2 separate regions of the Homo sapiens genome follow, and region 1 is linked to region 2. The links are contacts of gene promoters, found by promoter capture Hi-C in blood cells and fetal thymus (Javierre and others, 2016). All regions are on one chromosome and are shown on one strand. The core of a region is centred on a gene start or on the middle of the fragment in contact, and the rest is flanking DNA. Distances in the headings are between cores, read along the strand shown. Region 1 overlaps SLC9A5 (solute carrier family 9 member A5). Region 2 holds the start of TPPP3 (tubulin polymerization promoting protein family member 3).

Region 1 (3,277 bases), core at 493-2,992, 130 kb after region 2:
ATAAAGTGTGGGAGGGATGTGGTAGGGCTGCAGAATGTAATAGAATTGATCATGCACTGATTTTTCAGTGCTGGTTGATAGATAAATATGAGTTATTTTATTCGTTCTACTGGAATTTTGAATAAGAAAGGTTTTTTAAAAACCCCATAGGATGCAGTGAGACAGGGTCTGCCAGCCATTAACTGAGGAAGACCTGGGAGTTTAGCAGATTCTAAGGACAATGTGGGGCCCCAGGGTGGTGAGCCAAGGCTGGAGGGATCTTGGGCTGTGGGAAGAGAAATAGCAAGTTCTAGAACTAGAATGGTGTCAGAGCTTCTAGGCCCTTCCCTGGCCAGCCACAGCTAGAGTAGCAACTTCCATTCTGGGCGCTGTTTTTTTAAGTCCAGAGAAGACATACCAGGAGGTAAGAGATTCTGGCCTGAGGGCAAGAGAGCCTGTGTGAAAGGGAACTGTCTTGAAATTTTGGAAGATGTATTCTGCAGAGCTGCGAAGAGTCAAATCAGGACCAGTGGGTGCAAGTTAAAGGAGGCCAATTCTGTTTCAACAGTAGAAAGAGCTTTGACTGTTGAAACTGCCAGAACTGGTGACAGCTGGCTTCCCATTTTAGAAAGGTGCAAGGTAATGGCTTGCTGCCCTCTTGTGGGGTTGCAACAGACTCTCTCCTGGATGAGCTGGGCCTTTCCAGACGCAAAGCTTCATGATCTGCATTGGACTAACTTCCATTATTTAAAACAGATGCCCACCTTCCACAGGCTAAGCTGGTCTAGGAGGCTTCCTCAGTGCTCTTGCTTCTGTCTGTGACTCCATCATTCTCCAGTGACCCTCAAGGCCCCCAGTACTCTGTCTCCTCCTCCTCTCACCATCAGAGCCAATCACCTAGGCCTACGTGCCCCTCTTCTTTCCCACCGCTCAGCCCTAATCCACAATATTTCACTCCATCTTCCCAACTGGCTGTCCCAGCTTCTCAACTCACCCCCTCCAATTTGATCTGCACTCTGCTACCAGAGAAGGTATCCTTAAACAGTGCTTGTATTAGGTCAACCCTTTCTCCAAAAAATAAAAACAAAGCAGAGGTTTCTTATTACTGATGAGATAAAACCCACACTCTTTTTTTTTTTTTTTTTTTTTTTGAGATGGAGTCTTGCTCTGTTACCCAGGCTGGAGTGCAGTGGTGAGACCTCAGCTCATTGCAACCTCTGCCTCCCGGGTTCAAGCGATTTTCCTGCTTCAGCCTCCCGAGTAGCTGGGATTACAGGCATGTGCCACCGCACCCAGCTAATTTTTGTATTTTTAGTAGAGATGGGGTTTCATTTTTACCATGTTGGCCAGGCTGGTCTCAAACTCCTGACCTCAAGTGATCCGCCTGTCTTGGCCTCCCAAAGTGCTGAGATTACAGGCATGAGCCATCGCACCCGGCTGAAACCCACACTCTTTAGCTGGGCATCTGCAGCTCTCCAACAAGCTGGCGCCAACTGCCTCTTAAGCTCTCCTCAGACCACCTCCACCCCCTCAAAATCCTGATGCCTGCCTGCTCTCACCCTACGGCGCGGCTTGTAGAGGCCTCCGCAGAGCAGATGATGCATCACAGCATCCTCACGATCCCGGCCGCTGCGTACTGTGTCAATCACCTGCAGATCCAGACACGCTCCACTGCCACTCTCCCTCCTGCAGGAGGCAGGGGACACATGTGCTGGAGAGGGGGCAGGAGGCAGTCCAGGAGAAGGGCAGATGAAAAGGTGCTGACAAATCTCCCCCAGAAGGGACTCAGAGAGAGGGCACAATGGAGAGGAGTATGAGGAAGGGGAAGGGGCTCAAGGACTCACAGCAGGTTGGTGACAGAAGTTTCTGCCACAGAATTGCGGCTGGGCATAGAAGGCAGAGTGAGACCTGTGGAAGACAAGACGTGGCCTCCCTGCAGGTGTCAAGACCAAGGTCAGCCAGCAATCAGATGGAGGGTTGCCCAGGAGTCAGGGGTAATAAAGAAAATAATAATAACGAACACTTAGTTTACTCTTTTGACATGCCAGGTACTCTGCTAGGCACTTTACATATCGAATTCACAAAATCTATAACATAGGTACTTGTATGCCTGCTTTCTATTTTTTTTTTTTTTTTTTTTTTTTGAGACAGAGTCACTCTATCACCCAAGCTGGAGTGCAGTGACACGATCTCGGCTCATTGCAACCTCTGGTTCCCGGATTTTTTTTTTTTTTTTTTTGAGACACAGTCTTGCTCTGTCACATAGGCTGGAGTGCAATGGTACAATCTCAGCTCACTGCAACCTCACTGCAAACTCCACCAGGGTTCAAGCGATTCTCCTGCCGCAGCCTCCCAAGTAGCTGGGTCTACAGGTGCCCACCACCACGCCTGGCTAGTTTTTGTATTTTTAGTAGAGACGGGGTTTCACTATGTTGGCCAGGCCGGTTTCGAACTCCTGACCTCATGATCCACCCGCCTTGGCCCCCCAAAGTGCTGGGATTACAGGTGTGAGCCACCGTGCCCAGCCCGCTTCCCAGATTTTAGCGATTCTCCTGCCTCAGCCTCCAGAGTAGTTGGGATTACAGGCATGCACCACCATGCCTGGCTAGTTTTTGTATTTTTAGTAGAGACAGGGTTTCACCATGTTGGCCAGGCTGGTCTCAAACTCCTCACCTCAAGTGATCTACCCACCTCAGGCTCCCACAGTGCTGGGATTACAGGCGTGAGCCACCGTGCCCAGCCTCTTATGCCTGCTTTCTTACAGCTAAGGAAACAGGCTCAGAGAGTGTGCTTACCCAAGGTCACAAGCTTGGAAGTGATAATGGTTGAGCTGACCCCAGAGTCCAGCTGTTTCCCACCTCTCTGGACTGCCTGCCAGACTCTGAATGTCAGCACCAGACCCAGCTGCTTCCTGCCGCTGCCACTTCACCAGACCATGGAGCCAGCTAGGAATTCCCAACTCCCTGCTCAGGGCCAGCCTGCTTGCCACCCCTTTCTGTCCTGCTCTGCTGACCATCTGCCCACCCACCACTGGCCCACCTGGAAGCTGCTGGCCCACCTGGTCCACAAAGCTGATGGCATCCCGGATGTTAAGCCTGTAGTACACATCCCAGATCTGGTCCCGGATGCGGTAGGCTGATCGTCGCATCAGCAGCTGACTCAGGTATTTCTTGTCAAACTGCTCCCACCTACAGAGGATGCCAGGCCCGGCCCTGAGTCCCATTCCCAAGGCCTGGCCAGGTGGCCCTTCCTCAGACGGGGCAAGGACACCGTCAGCACTGGCCTGGCTTTTTAGATA
Region 2 (3,208 bases), core at 691-3,190:
GGCAGGGCCATCGAGGCAGGAGAAGGGGGTAGGCTAAGGTCGGGGCATGGGTCAGGCCCTTCTCTGAGCTAACAGGAAGGGAAGCTTCTCTCAGCACCTCCAGTGGGGAGGGATTTGGGGAACAGGCCCCAGGCTTACCCTCCTGCTTCCCCCTCAGTCCCTCCCAGTTTCTTGCCACCCGTGGCCAAGCGGAACCTCCACCACCCTCTTCCCCAGACACTCTCGCCCTGCCTCCCCGGATCCGACCCCAGGTAGGAGGGACTGTGCTGGGCCTCCGGTCCAGGTGGAGTGGGATAGAAAGAAGCCTCTACCCTGGCGCTCGCCTCTGCTTCTTTTGGCGATGTGGGGCCCTCAGGCTCCCCCGTGTCTCTGCAGAAAAAGAGGAAGAGGCGCGTGTATAAAGTGCGAACGTCTGAGACCTCGGATCCGGCGTCGGGTGAGCGCCTCTCCCTGTCCGGGTCCTGCTCTGGGAACTCGAGGGAGGGGAAGGCAGAGCCACAAGCGAGCCGCAGCCACTGGGCTCATGTTCCCTTCCCTTGCGCAGGGCCTAGGGCCCCCAGCCGCCGCTCCAGCTCGTCGACGGATTCCGCGGACGCCAGCCCTGTGCACGCCGCTGGCCCTGCCGGCGCCTACCACTCGGCGTCGGCAGAGTCCGTGGACGAGATTCCAGTGGCGCAGACGCGCCTGGGCAGCGCCGCTCTGGCCGCCCCGCGGGGCCGGGGCCGACAGCCCACGCTGGCGCGGCAGGCGCGTGCGCCCGCCGTTTTCGTGAGCCCGAGCAGCGGCGAGCCCAGGGCGCCGGGCGGCCGGGAGGCTGGTCTGGCTTAGCTGGGCCGAGAGGCCGGAGGGCCGAGTTAGAGCGGCCGGCCTGACTCTCTATGCAACACCCCATCCTTGCCGCACCGAGTGCACTTTAGGGGCCCCTACGGCCGGCGGGATCGGCCTCCCTCCCCCACGACTCAGCAATACCCGCCCCACCGGCTGTGATGCTCCAATAAACTTTTTTATGCTTTTGCGGACGTCGCGCTTACTTTCTTAATGGCAGGGGCCACGGGCCATCCAGAAGCCCGACCCTGGCCAGTGGACCGGGGGCGGGGAGGAGGTCCCTGTATAGTAGGTAGCCACCCAGGCTGCCCTGTGGAGGTGCTCACGTGCGGCTCGTGGTTAGGAAAGGCCTTAGAAGGCGGCCTGGAGGAGGTTATTTTTCTTAAAGATGGGCTTTGCACTGGGAGGCCGAGAGAAAGCAGGCTTTGGGCTCCGAAAGCAGCAGTGGGCGCTGAGGCTGCGAGGCCGTGGGGAGGTGGCGGCGAAAGGAGGGGGCCGAGCCAGGAGGTCCCGCAGCTTTTCCCCGGCAGCAGGGCTGCCGTCGAATGCCAGCATCCTGGGGCTGGGCGAGCGCGATTCGCTCGTAGGGAGTCCCCTCCCTTCTTCCCCACTGCTCCAGGCTCTGAATCCTACCCAAGAGAGCACGGGAGTTGTGGCCTGGGGGTGCCATCCGTTCAGTGGATGGCAGTGCTCTTGAGTCAACCGTATACCCCTGTCACTGAGGGAGAGCTCCTTCCCGATTCCCCAAGCCCCACCAATGCCCCGCGCAGCTCCCCAGTGGCCTCTGGTTGACTCTCTGGGGAGCTGGATCTCTTCTGGAGATTGGGGCCGCTTAGAGCTTTAGGCACATCCCAGGATGGGAGGCTGTTTCCTCAGGGGGCCGTCCGAAGACGCCCCGAACTGCAGAGCGCTGGTCTCGCCGTCGCGAGGACCGCGGAGTTGCGGGGGAGGGGCGGGATGCGGCTCCCGGAGAGTCTCGGGGAGGGCGGGGCCTCGTGGGCGGGGCCGGCGTGACCTTGGTCACTCTCCCGCCGAGACAGCCTCGGGGGTGGGACTCGCCGTCTCTATGGAGACCGAGAAACAGGGGATAATACGGCGGAGCCGCCTGGGCTGCAGTCCCACCCGGGAGCCGGCAGGGAGCGGAGCTGCGGAGCCGCCTGGTCTCCCGCGTCCATCGGTCCATTCCTGCGTCGTTCTGTCCTTCCGAACGCACACTTCAGGAGCAGCCGCGAGGTAGAAGCCCATAGGAGACCCAGATGCCCGCCACCCCAATCAGTATCCTGCACGATGAGGGTTGGGGGGAGCAGCCTGGAAAGGGTCCCAACCTCCGGCGGTCCCAGCCGAGGAGCCAGCTGAGCGGCCCTGCCCTGGCCCCAAGCATTCCACCTCGCAGCCCCCACCTCCTGGTCCGGCTGATTGATGACTCCAGCTGTCCCAGTGGGAGCGGGACGGGTGGCTCCAGTTCACGGGTGTGGCCACTCCATCCATGGCCTGCAGACCCATGGGGCTGCGGCCTGCAACCCAGCGCCACCTGACCGCGCTGAGATGACCAAGAATCCATCTTTCCACGGACAGGAGTGAGCACTGCACGCAGGATCCGCCCAGTGCTTGGGCCAAGCACCCTGTGGCATCCAAGCTCCCCTGGACGTTACCCTTGGTGAACCAAGTGCGGGTCTTGGGGTCCCTGGTGGGAGGTTGCACCCAGGGAAAGGGAAGGGGAGTGCAGCGTGGACTGGGGTTATGGTCCCTGTAACGTAGGAACCACCGGTGCTCACAGTCCCAGAAACTGCCACTTAGGGATGGGAGTGTGGTCACTGGCGAGGAGTTTTTGGTGGAAGATGGGGCAGCCGGGCAGAGCCCAGGCCGTGGTCACTGGAAGCCCTAGTGTAAAAGGCAGAGCTAGAAGATGGTTGCTGAGACCGAGGGTGTGGTCAGGAGGTGGCAGTGGAGGAGGGGGATGTGGTGGGGAGGTCTCTACGCAGGGGATCTCCGCATAGTACCTGGGAGTCTTATAATGTTAGTGTGTGGATGTGGACTGGGGCCTTCAGTGCAGGCTGAGGGTGTGGCCAGAGGGCTGAGGGTGTGTGGACAAAGGGGTGCTGAGGGTCAGGGCGCCTTGATAAAGGGCTGCGGGTATTGGAGGGGGTGAGTGGCTGAGGCTATGGTCAGGGGTCTCAGGAAGGGATGCAGGTTTGTGGCCAGGGGCCTCAGCCCCAGGGCTGCGGGTGTGGGGATGGAGAAGGCTGCTGTGTAGGCTCAGGGTGTGGCCAGGGGTCTGCAGCGGAGGGCTGTGGGTGTGGGGGGCACTTTAGTGCTGGACTGTGGGTATTACTGGGGTTGGCGCAGGCTTGTTAGTATATATGTGGGGGCTGGTGGCCGAGGG

The links. Contacts are between HindIII fragments. The CHiCAGO score rates a contact against its expected background, and 5 or more counts as called.
Region 1: a contact is called between a fragment that was not itself captured here and the fragment with the promoter of TPPP3 in region 2, in 5 of 17 cell types (M2 macrophages, endothelial precursors, megakaryocytes and 2 more). The highest score is 7.0, in M2 macrophages.

What each region holds. Positions count from the first base shown.
Region 1 is chr16:67,258,208-67,261,484 of GRCh38, reverse strand. It overlaps SLC9A5 (solute carrier family 9 member A5), which reads right to left. Exons shown (of 16, transcript NM_004594.3): 10 at 3,038-3,167; 11 at 1,824-1,912; 12 at 1,539-1,665. Among named protein-coding and RNA genes, the nearest start is that of SLC9A5, 11 kb to the right of the region's middle. The HindIII fragment of the contact is 2,094 bases long and covers 696-2,789 here.
Region 2 is chr16:67,392,230-67,395,437 of GRCh38, reverse strand. TPPP3 (tubulin polymerization promoting protein family member 3) reads left to right here and starts at 1,940. Exons shown (of 4, transcript NM_015964.4): 1 at 1,940-2,058. It overlaps ZDHHC1 (zDHHC palmitoyltransferase 1), which reads left to right. Exons shown (of 12, transcript NM_001323627.2): 10 at 158-251; 11 at 376-436; 12 at 545-1,286. The coding sequence ends at 828. The HindIII fragment of the contact is 5,780 bases long and covers 87-3,208 here.